4 separate regions of the Homo sapiens genome follow, and all the other regions are linked to region 2. Evidence: promoter capture Hi-C in 16 types of primary human blood cells and fetal thymus (Javierre and others, 2016). All regions are on one chromosome and are shown on one strand. Each heading gives the region's core, a stretch centred on a gene start or on the middle of the fragment in contact. The rest is flanking DNA. Distances are from core to core; before and after follow the strand shown.

Region 1 (2,700 bases), core at 132-2,631, 680 kb before region 2:
ATTCCATTTTCTTTCTTTCCTTCTTTCTTTTCTGAGACAAGTCTCACTCCGTCGCCCAGGCTGGAGTGCAGTGGCGCCATCTCAGCTCACTGCAACCTCCATCTCCCGGGTTCAAGCAATTCTCTGCCTCAGCCTCCTGAGTGGCTGGGATTACAGGCGCCCGCCACCAAGCCCAGCTAATTTTTTTGTATTTTTAGTAGAGACGGGGTTTCACCATCTTGGCCAGGCTGGTCTTGAACTCCTGACCTCGTGATCCACCCGCCTCAGCCTCCCAAAGTGCTGGGATTACAGGTGTGAGCCACCGCGCCTGGCCGTTTATTTTAATATATTCTTCAGCTCTGAATATTTGCTAGTATCCCAGTAATAGTTTGTTAAATCAATAAACGTGTTGACATACATGCATAGCATAATGTCTGGCACACAGTAGGTACTCCATTGAATGAATGCATGAATTATTACCGTGTCAATTTGCTTGTCTATTTGCAAATGTTAATAGTTAATTTGATCCCTAAAGTGTTTGTGAACTTAAAACACACACATACGCACTTTCCCTGACAACGCTTATCTGCTAACCCCTTAATTATGTTCATCTGAGACTGGACCAAAACATGTTGTTTTATTCAATTTAAATACCAAATTCAAATTTATTTTGAATATAGCTTAGAACACATTCAATGTTTGCTAAAATAATAATAATAATAATAATAATAATAATAATAATAATACCATGTACATTCAGTTAGCCAGACAATTACTCCAGCCCAAATACCCTGCTATGGGACATGAACCGGATGTCTGCCCGGCACACATTCATCAGGTGACCCCTAAAACTTCTTCTCTAAGGTCCACACTGTCTAATAGCCAAGTTGAAATCTTTCCTCGAAATTTTCCTCTCTAGTGTCTCAGTGCCCCAGGTGTCATCAAGGTGTCAAAGGCGCTTGGGAGTGCCTGCAAACCGCCCCATCCCCGGAGACACAGCCTCATTCCCCGCCCTCGCGCCTAGGCGGCCGGTGGGCGGGCCCAGCGAAGGGCCTTGTGGCTGTTTCCTATTGGGGCTTGGTTGCTATGGTGTCACTCGCCTTTAAACTCGTGGGTACATCTTTCGGAAATTAAAGGAGAATTACTTCCAGGGCTGCCCATACTTGCCATGGCCGACTCAGTAGTCACTAACTTCAACAAAAATAAAACTGTTGCAATAGTATTCTATTAAAGCTTCTTTAACTGCTTAAACTTGCGGTTTTGACATGGTACCTATCCTTTCTTCCCTTTTCAAAAGATTCGCTATAGAGTCTTTCTCTACATGCCAGTCTCCAAAATGGCGCGGACGGCATCAGAAGGTCAGAGGTGAGTCACGTGGGTCCCCCCGGTTCCGGCGCGGTTGAGGCCTTCGGTGGTGAACGAGTCTCCAGCACCATGTCTGGTTTGTCTGGCCCACCAGCCCGGCGCGGCCCTTTTCCGTTAGCGTTGCTGCTTTTGTTCCTGCTCGGCCCCAGATTGGTCCTTGCCATCTCCTTCCATCTGCCCATTAACTCTCGCAAGTGCCTCCGTGAGGAGATTCACAAGGACCTGCTAGTGACTGGCGCGTACGAGATCTCCGACCAGTCTGGGGGCGCTGGCGGCCTGCGCAGCCACCTCAAGGTGCGGCATTGGGCGACGTGGGGCCGGGAGGGAAGACGGCAGGCTTAGGCGAGGGGAGGCTCGGGTTCGGGGGAGTCGGGCCGGCGGAGGCCTGGGAGTTGTTCTGGCCTCCCGGGAGCGCAAAGGACGTGCGGTGGAGCCCGCCCCCTCACCCCGCTGGTTGCCTGTCGCGGGGCGGGGCGGGTCACCAACGCCTGGGAACCCCAAGAAGGGCTGCGAGGCTTTGGCGGATGTGGTGACACCTGAGCTGGGGCGGTTGTCAACGTCCTATACCAGTTTTGGTCTCAGATACATTGAACCGTAATTTGGTTCTCCAAATAAATGTTGGGGTGTTGAATATTTATACGGATTGGCATCATAAGATACCGCGATACCTGCAGGAAAGTAAAGGAGACAGAGCTAACCGTGATTAATAAAATGTTATTTATTGAGCATCTGCTGTGTCAGTTACTGTGCTACTTTGCATATATTACCATTTGGTTCATGCACTACCCTATGAAGTAGGTAGGTACTGTTAGCCCCATTTTACAAATGAGGAAACTGAGACTCAGAGGTAGGATAAACTAGTAAGTGTCACAGATGGAATAGATTCTTTTTTTTTTTTCAAAATTATTATTATACTTTAAGTTCTAGGGTACATGCGCACAACTTTCAGGTTTGTTACATATGTATACATGTGCCGTGTTGGTGTGCTGCACCCATTAACTCGTCATTTACATTAGGTATGTCTCCTAATGCTATCCCTCCCACCTCCCCCCACCCCACGACAGGCCCCGGTGTGTGATGTTCCCCACCCTGTGTCCAAGTGTTCTCATTGTTCAATTCCCACCTATGAGTGAGAACATGCGGTGTTTGGTTTTCTGTCCTTGCGATGGAATAGATTCTTACTTAGTTTGGTAGTTAAGTATGTTGAGGGAAAAGCGCTGCAACCTTATTCCTTCCTTGTTTTAAATTTGTAATTTCTGTAGTTGATTAAAGTCGATTATTGGTTACAAAATGGTCTCAGTCTCTAGTCCTTTTTCTTTGGTATGCCAGAATCTGGACTTGGCTCTTTTATGTAAA
Region 2 (2,707 bases), core at 78-2,577:
GGAATCTAGTCCGGCCTGACTTTCTACCGACTACCCAATGGACCTGGGCAGATCAATTTTGCTCCTATAACTTAGTTACTTTGATTCAGAACAACAAACCTTTACTGCATCCTCACTGTGAGACGGGCGGTGTTAACCATCCCAGGTAAACCCTTTAAATTTGGAATAAAAGTGCACCTTAAACTGGAGACACTTTTGTCCCTCCTGTACCTCCTTTGGGGGCCCACCCCTTCCTCCTTGCCTGTCGTCGGGGTTGATAACTGTATCCAGTGAAAATTTGTATTGGAATCCGGAGCATCCACCTCCCTCCACTTGCAGCCTGAGGAATTCTGACCCTTCGGTGATTTCCAAAAGCCTCTGAAATGCAGGAAGGGGGATCAAGAATAGCGGGAAACGGGAGTTAAAGGGCTGAGTGAAGAGCAGTTCCCGCTGCTCCCGCCAATCGCCTGGGTACCGCCGCTCCGCGTCCGGCCTCCTACCTGGACGCAACTGTCTGTGAGGCGGATCTGCCCTTCGCCGGCCTCGGGGCTGGAGGACGACGCCTCCCGACGCGCCTGGGGTCCCAGGGAGGCCGTGAGGAGCCTGCGCGCAAGGGAGGAGGGTGAGCCCGGGAGCAGAAGGGGCACCTTGCAACCCTCGACCTGGAGCGCCTCACGCTAAACCTGGCGACCCCCACCTGGACGGCCTCCCACCAAACCCTCGCATCCCCCACAGGCCTTAGTTTCCCATTTGTCCTAGAGGCGCAGAACCAAACACCCTTTCCAGGTGCCTTTCTAGTCTTGGTACCTGCCCCTCGGCCAGGGAGTGACCGCTCTCTGCGTCGCGGCCGTTAGGGACGACCCCCAGGCGGCAGCCATCTTCCTCCACAAGCTCCGCCCCTCGCGTCTCCCCCGTTTCTCACCCGGGGCCTCGGGAGGCGGAGAGAACGAACAGGAGGCCGGGACTTCACGGAGGCCCCGCCCCCCCAACATGCCTATTGGGTAGTGCGGGAGGAGAAGGTGTCTGATTGGCTAGGAATGCTCCAGACGGCAGCGGCGGGGACGCACCCAGGAAGCCGGAGAGGTGCTCTAAAGGGAAGGAACGGGGCGGGGAGGAGTGAGGCGGGGCGGGGCGGAGGTGGGTCCGGGCGGGTCAGGCCTCTGAGGGGATGGCATGGGCGGAGACTGCAGGCTTCTGGGCCTGAGAGGGCTGGAGCTGGCTTTCCGGAGCCGGGGGCGGGGCGCGGGCGGGCCTCAGCTGTGGTTACTGGTGACAGGTCGCCTGACTGGGCTCCTCCCCGGGCCCGCCCCGACAGGTTTGTCTTGTGACCGCGGGCGGCCGCTGCTTCTTTCCCGAGCTTGGAACTTCGTTATCCGCGATGCGTTTCCTGGCAGCTACATTCCTGCTCCTGGCGCTCAGCACCGCTGCCCAGGCCGAACCGGTGCAGTTCAAGGACTGCGGTGAGCCCCAGGCCCGCCCAAGGTTCCCGCGCCCTCTGTGGAAGGCCCCGCCGGACCCCCGCGCTGAGACCCCTGGGGCTGGGCTGGGCGGATCCCTCGGGCGGCCAGGCTGAGCCTTGGACCCTACCTAACTGGAATGGGCTGGGTCGGGGGAGAAGGCGCCGGCCTCCATGAAACCCGACCGCGCACAACTTTGTTTCTTTCCTTAGAACGCGTGTTTTGGGGTTCCTGGGAACTCCAGGAGGTGGGCCTTTTGCTGAAGTTTCCTAAAGTTTGTAGGGCGGACAACAGAAGGGCTGTATCCAGCTCTGGTGGAGGGGTGGAGCACAGAACTTCTTTTTATTTATGCTTTGTATCTTGGAATCCCGCCTCCCCCTTCCAACTCCTTTTGCTTTTCTTTTAATTTCGTTTTTGCTGACAAGTCAAAAGTCAATTCCCCTTTTTCATCATTTATTGTTACAAATAGGACTTCCTTTGGGCTTTGGAATCTTGTGATTCTTAATCAGTTTTTCCTTGTATAAATCTCATTGTGTCTCTAATCACAGCTTGTGATACATAACTCCCTCTCGCCGCTGTGGTTGGAATCTTTGTTGGAAAATACAACAGGTGGTAGAAATTCTGAGTGCCTTCATTGAGTCGAGTCTATAGAATTGTCGGAACAGAAACTCGAGCAATGTTGTTCAGAGGTGGAGATAGAGAGATAGAACTGTCAATGAAAGAGGCATGAAACTGACTTTGTAAGATCTATGAGTGGAAAGGAAGCACGGAGATCGTATAATCAATCATTGAATTCCAGGGATGTTGGGTAGCCTACCTAAAGTCACGCAGCAGAATGGGGAGCCAGAGTAAGTGTAACCGCCCAAGGGGTTCACCTTGCGCATTGCCTAGACAGAGCGGATTTATCAAGATGGGATTTGCAGTGGCGAAAAGAGTAATTCACGCAGAGCCGGCTGTGGGGGAGGCCGGAGTTTTATTGTTACTCAGATCAGTCTCCCCGAGCATTCGGGGATCAGAGTTTTTAAGGATAATTTGGCGGGTATGGGCTTGGAAAGTGGGGAGTGCTGATTGGTCAGGTTGAAGATAAAATCATAGGAGAGTCGAAGTGAGTTCTTCTTGCTGACCTCTGGGTGGTGTCATTTGCTGCATCGGAATGCAGGATCTGCAAAATATCTCAAGCACTGACCTTAGGTTTTACAATAGTGATATCATTACCAGGAGCAATTTGGGGAGGTTCAGACTCTTACAGCCAGAGGCGGCGTGGCCCCTAA
Region 3 (2,845 bases), core at 308-2,807, 580 kb before region 2:
CGTCCTGTCAAAGTTTGCCACGGCCTTCTCCGCCTGCGTGGCAGCAAGAACAGTACCAACCACAGAAAAGTTGCCCTGGTTCCTCACACCAAAGTTCCTAGATGAAAACTCTCTCGGCTCAGGGGGCCTTGGGTAGACATTATGGTCCCCATCAGTGCCAGCCTCACCTGTACTGCACGACTTCCTGTGGACCATGGGTTTCAATGGGAACGCCCGGTCCACTCCAACTCGTTTCTTTGTAAAGGGGATAAAGTCCTGGTTATTGGCTTTGGGATACCAGGATTGAGGGCCTGACGAGTAAAACAAACCATTTCCTTGGCCCTGGGAATCACTTTCTGGATCTTGCTGGCTGATTCCAGTACAGTGGGGATAGGAGTAGCTCCGGGCTTTTGTTTGGGTGTTCCATTTGGGGTGAGTATAGACTTTATCCAGAATCAACTCTTTGTTGCTCAAAAGCTGCTTCTGGAAATTGTTCCTCAGGTGCCCCTTCAAGGACTGCTGGGAAGAGTCACCTTGTTCGTAAGAGTCTTGCTTGGCTGAGTGGGGCCCTGGAGCTTCCGTTGTATTATGTGGGAGCATAACGCCCACAGGCAGATGTGACGCCAACCGCTGGAGACCAGCCATTCAGGGCCTGGACTGACGCCTACGGGAGATTTAAACCAGATACACGGGAAGAGTTTGTCTGAGGTTCACTCTCGGCTGCTAAAGCAAACTATTTCTACATTTGCCCTGCCCACATTCCCTTAAACTTTTCTGGGGACAGTGTTGCTGGACCTGCCAAAGCTTCCCTTCAAAAACCATTTGGTGAGTGATTATGCACAAGACACTGTGTTAGGCCCTGAGGGTAGAAAAACGAAGGTGCTACAGGTGTTCCTGCCACCTAGCTTTCCTTTCCTCCAGCACCAGCCTCTGCCACGCACAGTATACTCTATAGTAGGTGGAAAGAGCACCTGACTAGAAAGTCAGGTTCTAGGCCTGTAACAGGACAAGCGACTTCTCCCTTGCTGGCCCCCGTTTCTTCCCCTGTAAACTGAAGGGTTCCCGCAGAGTCCAGCCTCACCATTTTACAGGTGAGAAAGCTGTGGCCCAGAGGTAGTGACTGGCACAAAGAACTCTCAGGGCTTCCCTCCTGCTGGAACCGTGCTTGATTCCAAAGAGCACAAAAGCTGCTAGGGCCTGGAGCAGGTGCCTGGCTGTCAAACCCTCATCCCAGGAGTCCCCGTGGCGCAGACTGTAAAAGTTTTGTAACCTGAGCGTTGAGGGCCACCTGACCTGACCGCGGCCGGTTTTAGATCCTTAAGGCTGAAGTCACGTTTTGTCCCGAAGGGTCAACTGGGGCGCCCCCACTTCGGACTCCACCTCTGGGGACAAGTCCTCTCGCTCTCCTGCCCTTCGGTCCCTTAGGAGGTGGAGGTGCTGATCCCATGTCTCCCCGCCCTTCTGCGTACCTGAGGCCCTCGGGCACCGCTCCTGCTCAGGGAAAACCCCAGGGCCTAGTTTCCCAGACCTGACCTCCCCATCAACCGACAGCCGCGCAGGCGCTCTCAGCTGGCTTCTGTTATTCCCGGTGCCTGGAAACCGAGGCACTGGCGCGCCAAGCTCCGCCCCTCGCCGCGAACTCCTCGGGGAGACGCGCGCAGGCGCAGTGCACCAGCGACCCGGGGCGACCGGGGGTGGGGGTGCGGTCAGCCCAAGGTCACTTGACCCAGTCAGTGTCCGGCCAACTCTGCAGCTCGGTCCAGCCCTGCCCTTGGGGAGCCGGGGAGGGGCGGGAGAGGCTTTTCTGGAGCTCCTTCAAAGAAGAACTTGTACTTTTCTGAGAACGACGCTCCCAGACCTTGGGGTGTGCCCTTGTCTGGCAAAGGGCGGAGGCCCTGGCTGTGCCTCCGCGTGCTTCCGCCGCAGGATGCCGGCGTCCGCCCGCCTGGCGGGAGCGGGGCTGCTGCTGGCCTTTCTCCGCGCGCTCGGCTGCGCTGGGCGGGCCCCAGGTATGGCTGCACGCGCGCGCTCCTTGCTTGTCCTCGCCAAGGCTTTGGAACTTGCTGCCAACGTTTTTGCTACGCAGTATCTTTCCGTGGTAGTTTTTGTGGCCAATCTAATTATTTTGATATTATAATGTTTTACTCACGTGGTAATTCTAGCCGTCTCTACTTAGGGCCCAGGAATGACTCAGCCAAATGTAATGATGATAAAGTTAACTACCAGATCGAAAATAATCAGTATAACCTGGCTTCAACAGTAAATGATACTCTATCTTGTTGACATCAAAAGAAAGTTCATTTTTCTTCTTCGCTTCAGTTCATCTGTGTAAGCCGTTTGGAACAGGCAGTTCGCTTTTTCCCTGTAACTACTCAATTCATGCACATGGAAAATAATGTAGACAGCAGTCATCAGTGTTAATACTTCAACATGTCATATTACAGCTGTTACCCGTTACAAGGAAATTCCTTGGTGGACCCTCCAGATCAGTCTTTTTTTTTTTTTTAATTCCTCGTTTTCATCCCTAGTTGACTCTACCGCCTCTCCGTATATGCAGCTCCAGACGTTTCCCACTCCACTCAGGGTCCCGATTATCAACTCCCACAGCTTCCCTCAGCAGAATTTACCGGCTTTCTTTTTCTCTTTCTCTCTCTCTCTGTCTCTCTCTCTTCTTCCTCCTCTCCCTCTCTCCTCTGTTTCTGTCTCTGTCTGTCTCCCTCTCTCCTCTCTCTCTCTCCTTCCCTCTCCTCTATGAGAAAGAAGGGCGACTTTCCATTGAGTTCCATTGAGTTCTCTTGAATTAGTCCTTTTCAGTACCCTCCGGGAATTGACTCCATCACTTTACCCCTGCATTTTTGTTTTGTTT
Region 4 (2,700 bases), core at 187-2,686, 560 kb before region 2:
CAGTCCCCAGTACCTCAGAAAGTGACTGTATTTGGACATAGGGCCTTTAAAGAGGTGATTAAGATTAAATGAGGCTGTGAGGGTGGGCCCTAATCCAATCTGACTGGTGTTCTTATAAGAGAACATATTGGCTATAGACACGTGTGCAAAAATCAAAGACCCTGTGAAAATGGCCATCTACAAGCCAAGGAGAGAGGCCTCAGGAGAAATCGTTGCTGCCAACACCTTGATCTCAGACTTCCAGTCTCTAGAACTGAGAGGAAATAGACTTCTGCTGCTTAAGCTACTCAGTCTGAGGTATTTTGTTATGGCAGCCCTAGGTATAGTAATAATCATAAACAGTTATCAGGATTTTGCTTAATCAGCCCTAGAAGACTGGTTGGTTGGGTTTGGTTAGTCACTAAACTAGCATATATCAAATGCTTACCAGGTCTGACAAATTCGTTATAAATTCCACTTTAAATTCTCAATGAAAATGAGATAGAAAGCAAAAACTAAGGACTGGTTAACAATTCCAAAACACTTTATTCTCACAGCATTCTCAGAGTTCTGCTCTCCTTTAGTTATTTTTATAACTAAAAGCTGTGGTGGCACTGGGGAGATTCAAGTCAGTGAAGAGAGTCTTGGTGTTGTCATCTGTAAATTAAGAGTTGAGCAAAGGCCGGGTGCGGTGGCTCACGCCTGTAATCCCAACACTTTGGGAGGCCGAGGCGGGCAGATCACCTGAGGTCCGGAGTTCGAGACCAGCCTGACCAACATGGAGAAACCCCCGTCTCTACTAAAAATACAAAATTAGCCGAGTGTGGTGGCGCATGCCTGTAATCCTAGCTACTCGGGAGGCTGAGGCAGGAGAATCACTTGAACCCTGGAGGCGGAGGTTGCAGTAAGCTGAGATCGCACCACTGAATTCCAGCCTGGGCAACAAGAGCTAAACTCCGTCTCAAAAAAAAAAAAAAAAAAAAAAAGAGTTGAGTTAGACAGTTTCTCAGCCTTTTCCAGCTCCAAATGCCATAATTCTAAGATGGCAGGCTCTGGAATTATTCATTCATTCGGTGCCTACCATAGGCCAGGCACTGTTCTTGGTAACTGGGATACAGCAGTAAACAAAATATATAAACTCCTTACCTTCACATAGCTTACATTCTAGGGAGAGAAGACAATAAGTAAACACATAAAATATATATTGAATTAAACGGTAGTTAAGAGCAAAGGTGAAAATGAGAAAAAAAAGGAAAGGGAAAACACGGGAAAAAAAAATAAAAACAAAAGTAAAAGCTACGACATAGTCTTTAACACCATGCCAAAAGGGAATAAGGATTGAGACTGTAGGTACCGGTTCACTGAACCCTGGGATGCGGATCCTTGGCTGGAACAACTGGTGCGCATGCGCACTGGTGTCTCGCGGCCTGGCGCGCCCCCTCCGAAGCGCATGCTCGTGGGCACGCACGAGCCTCAAGATCCAAGGTGCGCGCGTCGGCGTCCGAGGCGGTTGGTGTCGGAGAATTTGTTAAGCGGGACTCCAGGTGACTCTGGGGGAAGCACGCGACGAAAAGATGATGCCGGGGTCTCTTCTAACACCAGAAGGGCCCTGATGATGGCTGCGCGCAGCTTTCGGAGCCGGATGCGCGAGGGCCCCGGAGGCCCGGCGGCCTGGCGGCCGGGCGGGCCCAGTTTGGGGACAAGGACGGGGCTGGCCAGGGAGGGGCTGGGCCTGGCGGGAAGGCAGCGCTGCCCCGGACTCGGCCCGCGCGGCCCTCCCAGGCCCCCGTGCCCTGGATCCAGGCCCGTGCGTCCCGTCAGTCCCAGGCGCTGGGAGGCGTCATCAGGAAATCATTGGGTTTACATTAATCGGAATACTTGTTAAACGTTTACCCGTCAGTTGCTGCCGGCTGCTTAGTGCATTAGCTTAGAAAGCAGCAGAAATTCTGCAGTTAAGAGCCCTGATTTGTCCCGAGTTTGGAAAACCGGCCCCACCGCCTGCAGGGGCCCACCCACGTGGCTCTCACTGATGGAGAAGAAGGGGAGACCTTTAATGGCACTGGAATCTTAGGGTTTGGTTTTTTTTGTTTTGTTTTTTGTTTTTGTGTTTTCACTTGCAGGAAAACTTAAAATCAAGTTCAGGCAGCCCCATGCCATCATTATTATTACCAAGGTAGTTTATGCCCATCTGTAAAGACCAAAAGAATATTAATAATGACCTTCTGGCCGGGCGCGGTGGTTCACACCTGTAATCCCAGCACTTTGGGAGGCCAAGGCGGGAGGATCACTTGAGTTCAGGAGTTCGAGACCAGGCTGGTTAACATGGTGAAACCCCATCTCTACATAAGAGACAAAAATTAGCCAGGCATGGTGGCGAGCGCCTGTAATCCCAGCTACTCGGGAGGCTAAGGCTGGAGGATTGCTTGAGCCCGGGAGGTGCAGGCTGCAGTGAGCCGAGATTGTGTCATTGCACTCCAGCCTGGGTGACAGAGTGAGACTGTTTCAAAAAAGAATAATAACGACTTTCTAAAAACATCAGAGTAATACATGAACAGGATTTAACAATCAAATGGCAAAGAAAGGTTTATATGAAAAGGAATTTTCCTGCTTTATCTTTTCCCATTCCCAGCCTCTTTCCCTGAGGTGACTATACTTAACCATAATAATAATAACCTCTTAATGCCCCCAATCTCTCTTTGATACAATTTGATTCTTAAAATT

What was found. The method cuts DNA at HindIII sites, captures the fragments that hold promoters and counts their contacts. A CHiCAGO score of 5 or more calls a contact.
Region 1: the fragment with the promoter of TMED10 here is called in contact with the fragment with the promoter of NPC2 in region 2 in 1 of 17 cell types (naive CD4 T cells); the score reaches 5.9 in naive CD4 T cells.
Region 3: a contact is called between the fragment with the promoter of ZC2HC1C here and the fragment with the promoter of NPC2 in region 2, in 4 of 17 cell types (fetal thymus, total CD8 T cells, M2 macrophages and 1 more). The highest score is 7.6, in fetal thymus.
Region 4: a contact is called between the fragment with the promoter of MLH3 here and the fragment with the promoter of NPC2 in region 2, in 2 of 17 cell types (fetal thymus and non-activated CD4 T cells). The highest score is 6.7, in fetal thymus.

What each region holds. Positions count from the first base shown.
Region 1 is chr14:75,175,293-75,177,992 of GRCh38, reverse strand. TMED10 (transmembrane p24 trafficking protein 10) reads left to right here and starts at 1,381. Exons shown (of 5, transcript NM_006827.6): 1 at 1,381-1,638. The coding sequence starts at 1,414. RefSeq lists enhancers at 1,231-1,470, 985-1,557. The HindIII fragment of the contact is 2,239 bases long and covers 1,215-2,700 here.
Region 2 is chr14:74,491,925-74,494,631 of GRCh38, reverse strand. NPC2 (NPC intracellular cholesterol transporter 2) reads left to right here and starts at 1,327. Exons shown (of 5, transcript NM_006432.5): 1 at 1,327-1,439. The coding sequence starts at 1,358. It overlaps ISCA2 (iron-sulfur cluster assembly 2), which reads right to left and starts at 867. Exons shown (of 4, transcript NM_194279.4): 1 at 787-867; 2 at 480-582; 3 at 242-357. The coding sequence starts at 857. RefSeq lists an enhancer at 785-864 and silencers at 1,065-1,344, 1,515-1,574. The HindIII fragment of the contact is 4,485 bases long and covers 1-2,707 here.
Region 3 is chr14:75,068,353-75,071,197 of GRCh38, reverse strand. It overlaps ZC2HC1C (zinc finger C2HC-type containing 1C), which reads right to left and starts at 1,557. Exons shown (of 3, transcript NM_024643.4): 1 at 1,449-1,557; 2 at 1-643. The coding sequence starts at 624. It also overlaps a transcript of ACYP1 not described here. RefSeq lists enhancers at 811-1,362, 1,363-1,914 and a silencer at 1,539-1,658. The HindIII fragment of the contact is 2,993 bases long and covers 786-2,845 here.
Region 4 is chr14:75,050,203-75,052,902 of GRCh38, reverse strand. It overlaps MLH3 (mutL homolog 3), which reads left to right and starts at 1,436. Exons shown (of 13, transcript NM_001040108.2): 1 at 1,436-1,523. RefSeq lists a silencer at 1,634-1,823. The HindIII fragment of the contact is 13,274 bases long and covers 1-2,700 here.